Regions from separate parts of the Homo sapiens genome. Here region 2 is linked to region 1. Evidence: promoter capture Hi-C in 16 types of primary human blood cells and fetal thymus (Javierre and others, 2016). All regions are on one chromosome and are shown on one strand. Each heading gives the region's core, a stretch centred on a gene start or on the middle of the fragment in contact. The rest is flanking DNA. Distances are from core to core; before and after follow the strand shown.

The links. Contacts are between HindIII fragments. The CHiCAGO score rates a contact against its expected background, and 5 or more counts as called.
Region 2: a contact is called between a fragment that was not itself captured here and the fragment with the promoter of AOX1 in region 1, in 2 of 17 cell types (M2 macrophages and endothelial precursors). The highest score is 5.5, in M2 macrophages.

The regions. Positions count from the first base shown.
Region 1 is chr2:200,580,838-200,587,838 of GRCh38, reverse strand. It overlaps AOX1 (aldehyde oxidase 1), which reads right to left and starts at 1,825. Exons shown (of 35, transcript NM_001159.4): 1 at 1,686-1,825. The coding sequence starts at 1,730. It overlaps SGO2 (shugoshin 2), which reads right to left. Exons shown (of 9, transcript NM_152524.6): 9 at 3,743-4,390. The coding sequence ends at 4,375. The HindIII fragment of the contact is 4,080 bases long and covers 1-3,195 here.
Region 2 is chr2:200,688,564-200,694,736 of GRCh38, reverse strand. No RefSeq gene overlaps it. Among named protein-coding and RNA genes, the nearest start is that of LINC01792, 44 kb to the left of the region's middle. The HindIII fragment of the contact is 9,786 bases long and covers 31-6,173 here.

The DNA.
Region 1 (7,001 bases), core at 576-3,075:
GTTAGGTTTTCTCAATCAGAATTAGAATTGGAATTGAAGACTTGTTTGTCTAAACAACAAAGCCAGTGTTGTGTTTACTATACCATTCTATTATGCAAAAGAAGAAAAAAATGACATAATGTCAATCATCTCACCCCATTGTCATATTTCACCCTCACAGCAGTCCTGTGAAGGGGTCCTAATGACCCTTACAGATCAGGAAAAACTAGCTCATCTTATCCAATGTAGAACCCAGGCAGCAGGGGCAGACAAAGTTTTTGAGGGGCCTAATGTACAATTTGGGGGATCCTCTTTAAGAAACATAATACAAAACCACAAATGAAATTAGGCTCAGGGTCTTAGAACAGGCCTCACAACTAGGGCCTGGTGCTTCACACTGGTTAGCTTCCAGGGGAGGCAGCTGGTGCCCGTCGGGAAAAGTGTTGTGGCTGCCCTTAGCCAGAAGCAGTGGTCACAGGTGGCTCTGAATGAACCGGCACCAACACGAGCACCAGGGAAATCAGGTGCCACTGCTCTTGCTTGGTTGTTAGCTCTGTTTTTGTTGTTTTTAAGAAATAGGATCTCACTCTTTTGTCCAAGCTGGAGTGCAGTGGTGTGATCACAGCTCACTGTAACCTTGAACTCCTAGACTCAAGCAATCCTCCTTCACCCTCCCCAGTAGCTGGGCTGCAGGCACGCACCACCACACCGGTTTTTTTTTGTTGTTGTTGTTTTGTTTTGTTTGGTTTTTTTTTTGTAGAGACAAGGTTTCGCCATGTTGCCCAGGCTAAACTCGAACTCCTGGGCTCAAGCAATCCTCCTGCCTCGGTCTCCCAAAGTGCAGATTACAGGCGTGAGCCACAGCTCTCAAGGGAGCTCCTTAACCTTCCTGCCTCAGTTTCCTCCTTCAGAGTAATGTCAATGAAACTGGAACATTAAGAGTGAGCAGAGTTGATGCTCACATTAAGGGGGGTGTTTTAAAGGATGCCCAGGGGGCTTTGCTTCTCCCAAACATCGGACACTGCCTGGAACTGTCCCTCGGGTTGCGCAGAGCGAGCCCAGCTTCTGAGGCGACAGAGCCCGCACCCAGCAGTGGAACCCGTGAGGACCTTGGAGCCCCCAGAGCCTGACTTGGGTTCAGCTCTGCCAGGAACTAGCTGTGACTTTGGAAAGTAACGATTTCTTCATCTGAGAAACGATGGGGGTGGTTTGAATGTGTTCGTCTCTACGGTCTTGTCCCGAATCTAAGTTGCTCTCTGCGCTTCCAAACGCACCCCGCGAGCTGAGGCTCAGCCATTTCTGTAGGCTGCTCTCAGTGTACTGGGGACGTTCCCGTTATCGGCTGGGATTGAGGGAACGAAGATCTGGGAGTGCTGACCCCTGATGGGCAAGAATACTTTTTATCTTACTGTTTAGGGAGGGCGTGTGGTTGGAAATCAGCTTGTGAGCCTTGGAAGGAGAGGAAAGGGGAACATAAGGAAGGTGGGGGCCCAAAGATCCAGGACAGTCCCTGAAAACGCAGCCTTTAGCTGCCCCGGAGGCAGGGGTGGGAATGCGAAGGCAAAGCCGCTGTTACGGGAGAAAGCCAGTCCGTGCCTGAGTGCCTTAAACGGCGGGCACGAAAGGATGGGACGAACGGCAGGGGCTCCTCTCTGCCCCGGCCCTGGCCGCAGGTCTGGGGGCAGAGGAAGCCCGCGGGCGCTCACCTTGCGGCCGTTCACGTAGAAGAGCAGCTCGGACGCCCGGTCCATTGTGGTGTCCGCGCTGGTTCGAGGGCCCGGAGCGGGAGGCGGAGGTTCTGGGAAGTAGCGGGCACCTGGGACCCGGCGGCACCGACCCGCCGAGTGGGGCGGGGCTTGCTGGAGCCTAAAGTCCAACCCATCCACCCCGACGGAGAAAGCCTTGATTAAGATCCAACGTTCCTGAGCTCTTTGCCAGGAACTCTTCCCGGGACACCAGCACGTGTGTGGGCGTCACTGGCGCCCTCTATGTGGGCGGAAATCATCCGGCGAAGATGAAGACGACCCCTTCATCTCCTCGCCAGTGGCGCTTAGCGTCTGTGTCACACCCTCTTGCGTCTTAGCAAACATTGTAAGTCCTGGGACATTGCTTTTGATGGTCTTATGTTACTGCATATTTTAGGTGGTGTTCCAGCTGGATTTAAGTCTGGGAACATTAGTAACTCCCCTCCAACCAGGCCTGCTGTAGTCCTGGACTCTTAAGTGTAAACAATCATATTTATTCCAACTCTGCAAGAGCGGATCTTAGGGAAAACAAATAGGTTTACAACTTGATCTTTTAGAAATATAAGGTTGGTGCAAAAGTAATTGCGGTTTTTACCATCACTTCCAATGGCAACAACTGCAATTAATTTTGCACCAACCTAATAATTACTGGTTTTAAAATGAAGTGCTATCTTGATATAAACTTAAAAATTTTATCACTATTTACAGTTTATCCAGTAACTAACCACAAAGTTTATCTGGTAAATAAGAACAGAGATGTAAAACATCTTGGAAAACTTAAAAAAAAAAACTTGGAAAATACAGCAAAGCATAAAAATAAAGAACACCTGTAAGCCCACAACTTAGAACTTACCACCGTTCACTTTTTTAGTCTATCCTTACTTTTTGAAACATGTACTTTTAACACCTTTAAAAACTTAAGTGGGACAAACTAGTTATTTTCCAGGCTTTTTTCACTTGCCATACCTTAGAACATTTTCCCATGTTATTTCATTTATGTAAACACAAAAATTTTATTGTGAAATTTTCCAAACTTTGCACATAAAAGTGAAGAGTGCAATTGGCATCTACCTGCCCTTCACTGAGCTTTAACAATGGTCAACGTTTTGGCATACTCCATTTTTTGTAGTATTTAAAAGCCAATCCTGGACATATTTTAGCCCTAAATACTTCAAAAACACACATACACATCCTTTTAGTCAGCCGCAACACCATTTCACGTGTCTAAAAAATGTCTTTTACACTTGACTTCTTTGAATCAAACAAGAGCTGTGCAATGTATTTGCATGTGGTCTCATCAGTCTCTTTTGATCTAAAACAGACTTTTTAACACTATTAACACATTGAAAAAGAAACCAGGTCAGTTGTTCTATTGAAATGAACCATTTTTTGAATGTGGCTAATTGCTTCTCCCTGGTATTGTTTTTCTACTCTACTTATTTCCTATGCACTAAATATTAGATCTAAAGCTTTGATTAAATTCAGGTTCAATTTTTTGGGGGGGAGAGGGCAAGAACACTTCATAGGTGGTACCATATAATTAATATTGCAGCACAGCAGGAAGCATATGGTGTCTGGTTGTTTCATTCGTAATGATGCTAACATTGATCAGTGGGTTCAGAGGGCTATTCCTTTGTAATGAATTTCTCCATCAACATTTCACCTAATTGTTTTACATCCATTGTTGAGCATTGCCTGAGCGGTAGTTTTAATAGGGGTTTGCAATTTTTCTAATTCTAGCATTTCTTCTTCATTCATCAACTGGGATTCTTTGAATAAAACTATCCATCCTTCACTAGAGCTATTGACTAAACCCCTCCAGCACTCTGTACCCCCACTGCAGTCTCTCAAAGTGTGGTACTAGGACAATCCTCGGACGGACTCACCTGAAGCATCTGATTAAGATGCAGATTTCTGGGCCCACCGCGTTAGTGGTCAGATATTGTCTAAAAAAGTTTTCCATCTAGGTGGAATAGAGTTTGAGTAGTCATTTGAATTCAATAAACTGTGTATTGATCTCAGATATGAACAGGATTTATTACTACTTATTACTGGAAGAGTAAGTGATCTTTAAAACCAAATTATAAAAACCAAATTCAAAAGAGCCTGAAAGGTTAATCTCCTCCTCTAAGTCATCAGATTACATATAATAGAAATAATACAGAAGCTGACATTCAACATGTATTTCTGAAAACAGAAGAATGAAGGGAGAGAAAACGGGCCAGGGCAGGAGGTGGCTTTTAAACCCTTTTGGATGTCCACATATATTGAATGGGTTAAAAACAGACAGCAAAACAAGACAGCCTAGTATACAAGATAACCAATGCAAAGGTATTTATTAACACATTTTATTTGGTTAAAAGGTTATTGTTTGGTTAAAGGCTACTAGGTAAAAAGAAGCTTAAATAAACAGGAAGGTAAGTTATATGATGACCAAAATGACTCAAAAAGTTTAATGTTACAAAATAGCTATTTTATGCACATATACCTATTAATAAACATTAAGAATGGACAAATCAACACTCCATGAAAGGCCAAAGAAACAAAAAAAAAACCTTTTCATTAAGCATTTCATCTTCTTGATACTATATTTCTGTTTTGATTCCTTATGCTTTGAAAATTCAGAAAAACCAGAATCCATAAATTCACTTCATCTTCTCATCTTGCTGCAAAGTAGAAAAAAAGGAAGATTAATAACAACCCAAAATTAATGCTTTTGCTGTGAAGCATGGAGAAGAAAATTGTTTCATCATATCAGTAGAAAAGAAGTTTCCTTAAACCATAAGCTTTGTTAAATACTTGAAATACTCTAATTTTTCTTAAATCTTATAGTTCTCACTATCAGAGTACTTCAAATAATTCATTTCAAATATTTAAGAAAAATTAATCAACATAGATTTTATATATTACATGTTTATTACATAGTTCCTTTTTGTTAGAAATTTAGCATATGTTCAAGAACATGTGAAAATATACCATTTAAAAACAAAGTAAATGCTCATGTTCCTACACCCAGGTTAAGAAACAAAATATTACCACACCTCCAATATGCCCCTTTCTGATCACAACCCTCTCCTCCCCCAAAAAGGGACCACTATCCTGAATTCTATTATCACTCCTTTCTTTACAGTTTTGTTTTAAGCGTTTGTGTATTGCTCTCCCACAAAGTATATTGTTTGGTTTTATCTGTTTGATAGATATCTTTATATAAATGGAATCGTACTGTAGGTGTTTTTCTGTGACTTTTTCCACTCAACATCTTCATTCATTTTCAAGCCTCTCCTTTATTGAAACATTAAACATTTTATATTCTGTGTCTGATTGCTGTTTCTGCTGATACCTTGTTCCCCTGTGTATGTAATGTTTTTCTTTACTATGAGGTAGCCCTTCATTTTCCTTGGAACTTTGGCTGTGCAAAACATGTTGAGGTGTGAGATGGACAACTCCCTACAAAATATTTGCTTCTAATAGACAACAGAGCACTATAGTTCATGCACTAATTATACTAAATCCTCAGCTTAACTTTTTTTTTGCCTTCGAAATATTGTGAATTCCAGCTATAATCTGCAATAAAGGCTGTATTTTGGTTATGAATTCTAAGGAAAGATTTTTTTCCTCCTTAATTCAGCACCCAAGTTATTTCCTGGGGCTGAGCAAGCTAGTGGGGAGGTTATTTTTAGTTTGCTCTTTTACTGAGAAAGTAGATCAACTTTATGGAAGAAGATCTATTAGACTATTTATTTTGGATAAACCCTAGGATTTGTCTTCTGTCCCTAGCCCCATAGGGTTGTGAATGCAATGTTTAGGTTCACCTAGTTAGACAAATATCTTCAGGATAAGGTCAGTTCCCCTCTGAGTTCCTGCTATCATTTGATCTTTGATCTGAGCTTTTCTTACTTTCCTACTAAAAGAAATGTTGGTTGGCTAATAGTCATTAGTTAAGAAATGCATTCAAGGTATGTTTTTTAGTATTTTACCCAATAATTTTATTTTTTCAGTAAGAGGGTAGATTCCTGCACCTAATACATCATGTTTCAAGTTATGGAGTTTAGTTATATTTTACATGCATGTGTGTAAATGTGGTTTTTAGATGAAATACATAGACATGGTCCCAAATTTAAAAAGGTATACAAGATTAGGTGGAAAGGTCTCTTTCACTCCTTCGTACTCCTCTTCAGAGCCAGTGTGATACCACTGCCTTGGGTAATTAGATAGAGTTTAATTAATCCTTTCAAAAGAAGTACCTATTCTAAATAAAACACAGCAAAATGCTGTAAGGAAATAAGGTTCTATTTTAGTTTAAATGTACAGTGCATGCAGATGATTTGCTATACAGCTTAGTTGGTAAAATTTTTAAAAGCAAAAGCCACAACATTCAGTATAAATTCCGAGTGATGACCATCCAGTTGCCACTTTTTTTTCTTCCTTCTTTTTGGATTGGAAATGGTATACACTAGGTATATCACAGCTTCTAGTAGCTCCCATGAAAGTACATCCTAATTAAAGCTGCTTGCTATTATGGAATGATCATCATAGGTATTGAAGATAGGAGTGGTAGGAGTTATCAGGAAGGTCTCATAAATATGTTTTTAAAGTCTTTATATCTTAAAGACTTTAAGTCTTTAGTCCAGAGCACTGAACATGACAAATGAGGACATTTTTAATATAATAAAGGCCATAATCCAAAATGAATAAGTAATAATCATGATATTTACATAGCAAAAAGCAGAGCAACCACCCTTCTGAAGCAAAAACTACAGGAGATACATGGAAACACAGGACACAGTAGATTTTAATATACAACTCTTAGTATAACCTTAGTACAAAACAGATCACTTATTTACAAAAAATAAGAAACAGAAGATCTAAGCAACATAATAAATACAGTAAATCTCATGGATATATATCAAACTTTAGACCTTGATTATGGAGAATATACATCTAAGCAATCACAGCACAGTTATAAATGCTGATCCTATAGTAGGTCACAAAGAAAATACTGGCAATTTCCATAAAGCAGAAATATTACAATAAATAATTTCTGACCAAAATGCAATAAAACTAGATTTACAAATAAAAACAAAAAACCAGAAAGGTTCATCTACCTGGAATTTTTAAAACCTCCTAATAACTCCTAAAGAAAAGGAGAAACTTAAAAACGACATTGAAAACACTATGTATCAGAATCAAGATACATTGAAAGCACTGATCAGAGAAAAATTGATTGCAAAAGACACTTTAAAAAAAAATTTTTTTGTGTGTGTTCTATTTACTTAT
Region 2 (6,173 bases), core at 3,674-6,173, 100 kb before region 1:
AATCTCAGGCAAAAACATCTTGAAGAAGCTTCCTAAGCAATTCTGGGAAATTTGAGACCCTGCTATGAGTTAGGTTGCATGGGAGGTGTTGGAAGGAAGGTGACCGTATAGAGAATCTGTTGTAATAATTGCAGTGTAATTGAAGATGGTCTGGACTCAGGGAGTGCAAGTGCAGAGGACAAGGGACAGATGAGCCTGCAGACCGCTACATGAGCCCAGCATCAAGCCTTGGCTCTAGGGGAGAAAAAGCAAAAGGGTACCAATAGCATTAATATGGAAGTCAGGAGAGAGTTGTTTAGTGGAGTAAGGTGAGGGTTACGATGAACTCAGAACCAGGTATGTAAGGGAAGGGTCAGAAAAGAGAGCAGAAGTAGAAATGGATTCAGAAAACATATGGAGATGTCACCTGGAGTCTCAGGAATGGATGAGTCATTAGGTGAAGAAAGTGCATGCAGATAATTTAGCTACAAAGGAAACAGGGAGGATGAATGCAGAGAGCGAGTGGGAATGAAAGCAGCTGCATCTATGGGAAGGGCTGTCTCATAGATGAGGGACAGGTCTACCCAGGGTTAGCCCATATGTGGAAGTGGCAGGACAGCAGATCTCAGCTTAAAGTAAGAAATGGCTTCTAACAGATCTGCCGAGAACCTCCCAAGCCAGCTCTGACTGTCAGCTGGTACAGTTTACCAGTTCTATTGGGACTTCAGCATGATTAGTTGATGCGTTGCAGGGAGGTGAAGTAGGGAAAATAATAGCTGAAGAATGAGTAATGTTTAAATTAAGTACCATACTAGGTTTTTTTGTAATGTCATTTTTTATGCCTCTGAGAGATGAGGCCCCCATCCTGGAGTTTGTTCTTATTTACATTTCTATTGGTGTCAGAGGCATCAAATGTTGCTTCCAGGAGCCCATTCCCAGTATTGCCCTTTGGCCCTAGGTTGCTGGGCCCCCTGTCACCATGCCCATCTCCAAGGAGCAAGGAGACCCCAGGGTTAAGGGACATTCCACCAACAGCCTGTACCCCATCGCTGAGCCACAGGCTGTTGGCACTCATGGCCTCAGAATTTCCTTCCCAAAAGGCCCGAAATCTACTTCCACAGCCCACGTGGGCCTCTGCTGCAGTCTCTCCTCCCAGAGAGGACAGATACCCATCTAGAAGCTCACCCCTAGGCCTGAGCTGTGGCCAAGGGGCAGCTGTTTGGGGAATGGATGGAGCTTGGACAGGTGAGTTGGGTGTTCAATCTGTGATGCCAGCAATGTGGAACAGAACTGGGGTGGGAAGAGAAGAGAATGAGATGTCTTCTCCTTATATTCTTGCTTTGCGCTTGCAAATGCTGGGGGGAGGCCTGACCCTCCTGTAACTCCAGGCCGTGATATTTGATGTCCACTGGGTAAACAGTCTATACCAGTCTTTAAAGTCCCCCCTACCCTTTCAAATATAACTAGGAATCAAGCAAATTTGGATTCTAGAGGGAATTGTATTTCTGCTGTAATTACTGTACCATCCATAGGAATTTCTTTTTGTTTAAACTTTTTTTGCATATGATTATAAAATTAATGCATGTTCATGTAAAAACATCATGTAGAATTGCTGAAAAATCTACAGAAGGGAATAAAATTACTTCATATGAAGTAGAGATAACCACTATCAATGTTATGTGTATTTCCGTCCACTCTTTATAATTGCTCTGTATATATGAGATTATACTATGCTTATACATTTTTTCTATAAATCTGGTATCAGAGTGCTCAATTTTTAAATTTTTTCACTTCAAACCATTTTTATTTTCAAATTCTTTAAATATTGCACAAAAGAGATTTTCCAAGATAGTATAAATTCCAATCACATGGTTATGCCATGAAATACTTAAGCAATCCCCTATTGTTGGACATTTAGTTTATCTCTAATTTTTTTGTAATTATAAGTAACATTGTGACAAATATCTATGTATATAATAAATATTTGACTTACCTTCAATTACTCCCCTAGAGTAGATTCCTGGTGGTGAAATTGCTGGGTCAAAGAATGTATACACAGAAATTTTAAATTTCTTGGACATTTTCTAATTTCTACAGCTTTTGTGAGCCATCTCTTGCCAAAGTTGGCTCTAAGGACAATTCTGAACATCAGTTACCAGGAAAAACTGGCATTCAATAAGCAATTATTATGTGCAGTCACTGTACTTGGAACTTTCAGCACCTCATTTATGTCTATGATTTAGCCTTCCCAACAATTTCCTTGAAATATTATCCCAGTTATACCAAGGAGGAAATTAAACTGGAGCTGGAAAGTTACAGAGCTAGGATTCAAGCTAGGTTCCATCTTGCCAAGGCTGGTGTCACCATGCTGGTGCCATGTTTGAATAATTACTATATCTTGCAGGCCCTGTATGTGGGGTCCTTTTCTCCCAGATAGACTTGGGTTTGCAGCGATTGGGGGAAAACGGAAGGAAAGGAATAGAAGGACTGAGAGAAAGATAATTGTTCTTAGAACTCCAAAAGCCTCTTGCACCAACACCCCAAGCCCCAATAGTCAGGGGTTCATCGAAATAGATCAAAGGGCTGCGCAGAGGCCAGACAGTATGTGGTCAGCATGATATTTTGTGTTTTACAGACATGATATAATTTACACTTTATAGTCATAATCCCATTTTACAGATAGAGAAACAAAGGTTTAAAAAAGGTTTCCATGATAGTGGAATCAGAATTTGAGGCTATGCATTCTGATAATGGAGTTCATGGTCATAAAACAGGTAAAAGAGGGCAGAAAAAGAAAGACTTATACTTGCTTTGTTCTTAGGGCCTGCTTTTCTCTTGATCCAAGCAACATTTACCTTCCCCATTCATTTGGCAGCAAAATGAACTCTATAGAAGAAAACAAGAATGGAAAAATCAGAGAATCCTGGAGTTGTAAAATACCACTAGAGGTGATGATGATGATGATGATTATGGTGGTGGTGGTGGCAGCAGTGGTGGTGTGCTATGGTTCAGAGACTAGGGAGGAGCAGGGAGCAGGTTACCCCAGGGAGGACTGAAAACCCTGGTGCCCCTGGCGCCTCCTAAGTTAGAACGATATCCACTGAGTTGCCACCAAGTCACAGGGATTTGGCTCCACTGAAGAATTCTTCAGTGGAGAAGCTATGGCCCCTCCATTTATTTCAGTCTGGGAATCTAGCATTGGTCTTTTCTCCATGCTTATCTGACCCAGTGATCTAGCCAATAAAATAGATTCAAATAATCTTTAAAGCCACAGGGAAACTGGAAATGAAATACAATCATCCCTCAGTATCTGTGGGGGATTGGTTCCAGGACCACTCACAGATACCAAAATCTGCAGATGCTCAAGTGTCCTATATAAAATGGAATAGTATTTTCATGTAACCTACACACATCCTCCTGAATACTTTAAATAATCTCTAGATTCCTTTTACTACCTAATACAATGGAAATGTTATGTAAACAGTTGTTATACTGTATTATTTTACAGTTTTTTTTTTTGACAGAATCTTACTCTGTTGCCCAGGCTGGAGTGCAGTGGCATGATCACAGCCTACTGCAACCTCCGTCTCTCTGGCTGAAGCGATCCTCCCACCTCAGCCTCACAAGTAACTGGGACTACAGGTGCATGCCACCATGCCTGGCTATTTTTTTGTAGAGATGGGGTTTCACCATGTTGCCCAGGCTACTCTCAAACTCCTGAGCTCAAGTGAACCACTTGCCAAGACCTCCCAAAAAGCTAGAATTACAGGCGTGAGCCACTGCACCTGGCCTTGTATGGTTATTGTTATTTTTTTCTTACATATGTTTGATCTGTGGCTGGTTGAATCCAAGGATGTGGAACCCACAGATAAGAAGGGCTGACTGTATAGGTGATGATGGAAGGTACCAAATAATTTCAAATTATGAATGAATGAATTGAATTGAATTGAAAAATGATCAAATAAACAAATAGATCTCATTGTAATTTGTCTTACTTCTCCAGCTCAGGTAGTTAGTTGTCATAATATTTATAACTGCTATGCAGAATAATAATTATTTGACATCAATTATTCATGTCAATTTTGTTTACATGGCTCTCTAGTCTCTATTCTTTAACCTTTCTTTTAGACATACAGTCATGTGTTGCTTCAGGATAGGGATATGTTCAGAGAAATGTGTTAGGTGATTTTGTCATTGTGGGGTCATAGAATGTACTTATGCAAACTTCCATGGTAGAGCCTACTACACAGCGAGGCTGGATGGTACAGCCTATTGTTCCTAGGCTGCAAACCTGTACAGCATGGTAGTATCCTGAATACTGTAGGCAATTGTAATGTGATGGTAAGTATTTGTGTGTTTAAACATAGAAAAGGCACAGTAAAAATACAGTATTATAATCTTATGGGACCACCATCATATATGCTGCCTTTCATTGGCCAAAACGTCTTATGGAGCCCATAGTTGTATTATTTGCATGTCCCCTTTGTTATTCTCTTTCTCACTTTTCCACATTCTTTTAACAATATAGGAATCTAAACATCTCTGGGTATATAATCTCTGCAGTTTGTAATGTATCTTTTCAATAAAAAGTTTGTATTTTTAAAATTAATGATTCCATATAGTCTTTCTTAGCTACTTCCTATAGGGTTGTTTTTTTTTTCAGTTAAGTATAATAAAAAAAATTTGGTCTTTGTCCCCAGTTGGTTGTTGGCACAGAGCTTTCAAAACACTTGGAATTTTCTGAGTTATAGGGGTGTCTTTTGTTATTCATGACAAGCCTCTGGGTCACATCTGAGTTTATGCTAATGAGACATCTTAGGATAGGGCCCCTACGTGGATGGCCTCAGGATGACTCTGGTGAGCAGAGAGACCAAGTGATTGGAGGGTCTTCCACCCACCTGTCTCTGAGGGAACAGCGGGGATGGAGATAAAGCTCTATACAAACCCTTGAACAAGGAGATTTATGACCTTCTGGGTTGGTGAATGCATCCACATGACAGGAGGCTGGTGCACCTCAACTCCACCGAGACAGGAGCTCCTACACCCAGGACCCTTCTGGACCTTGCTTTATGTACCTTTCATAGTGCATTCTTCTGTGTCCTTGACAATATCTTTATAATAAACCAGTAAATGTTAAGTAAAGTGTTTACCTGAGTTCTGTGAGCCATTCTAGCAAATTACCAAACCCAAGGAGGAGTTCGTGGGAACCTCCAATTTATAGCTGGTAGGTTAGAAATATAGGAGGCCCAGACTTGCGATTGGCATGTGATGTAGGGGATCTTGTGAGACTGAGCCCTTAATTTGTGGGAGCTGCCACTAACTCCTGGTAGATAGGGTCAGAATTGGATTAAACTGTAGGATACCAGCTGGTGTCTGGAGATTGGAGAATTTGTTGGTGTGGAAAAAAACCACACACATCTGGTGTCAGAAGTGTTTGTGTGAGAGTGTGGAGAAATTATGTGTTTTTCAGAGCGTGGGATGTGGAGGAAGTGGGCAGAGGAAGGTCTGAATCTAATGCTCTATGATTGCTACACATTGCTGAATGGCTACTGATTCCACGCAGCATAAAAGATGAAAATGTTCCTTCTCTCTTCCCCATCTACCATGAGTACTAATCAAAGATGGAAGCACATTCCAAGAGGACATAGGGATTTATTTCACAAAAATGTTTAACTTTGGTGGTGACTCAACAAAAAGTGCTGCTGAAATGGCAGCATGAGAAATAGACTGTTTTCCTATCAACAAAACAAGATGTAAGGAAGATGGCCTAATTCGTTTTCACTTGAAATATGCTATTTTATAAACTTCAGTTTCAAAAAGCCATTGAGGTGCCACCTGTCTGTGTTTCTGAGAAAAATACCTAGTTACCATCACTGAGTTGGGTAAAATGTGAACCATTTTTCTCTAAGACACAATATTGTGCTTTCCTTGAAAACCAATCCTGCATAATGCACATGATGATTTGTGACTTAATCCAGAACTGTTGGCTCTGCAGCTATCAGTTGTTTCATACTCACAAGACTGAAACTTTTCCCACTATCCACAATGGGTCTCTGTCCAGTACAGCAGCATAAATTACCTGGGAAGAAGGAAATACACAATGTTTTGACCCAAAGACCCCTGACATCTCTGCCCTGACAGGTCTCCCTTGTTTATAGGTAGGTCTCGCATCACTCCTTCCCCCCAAATCATAT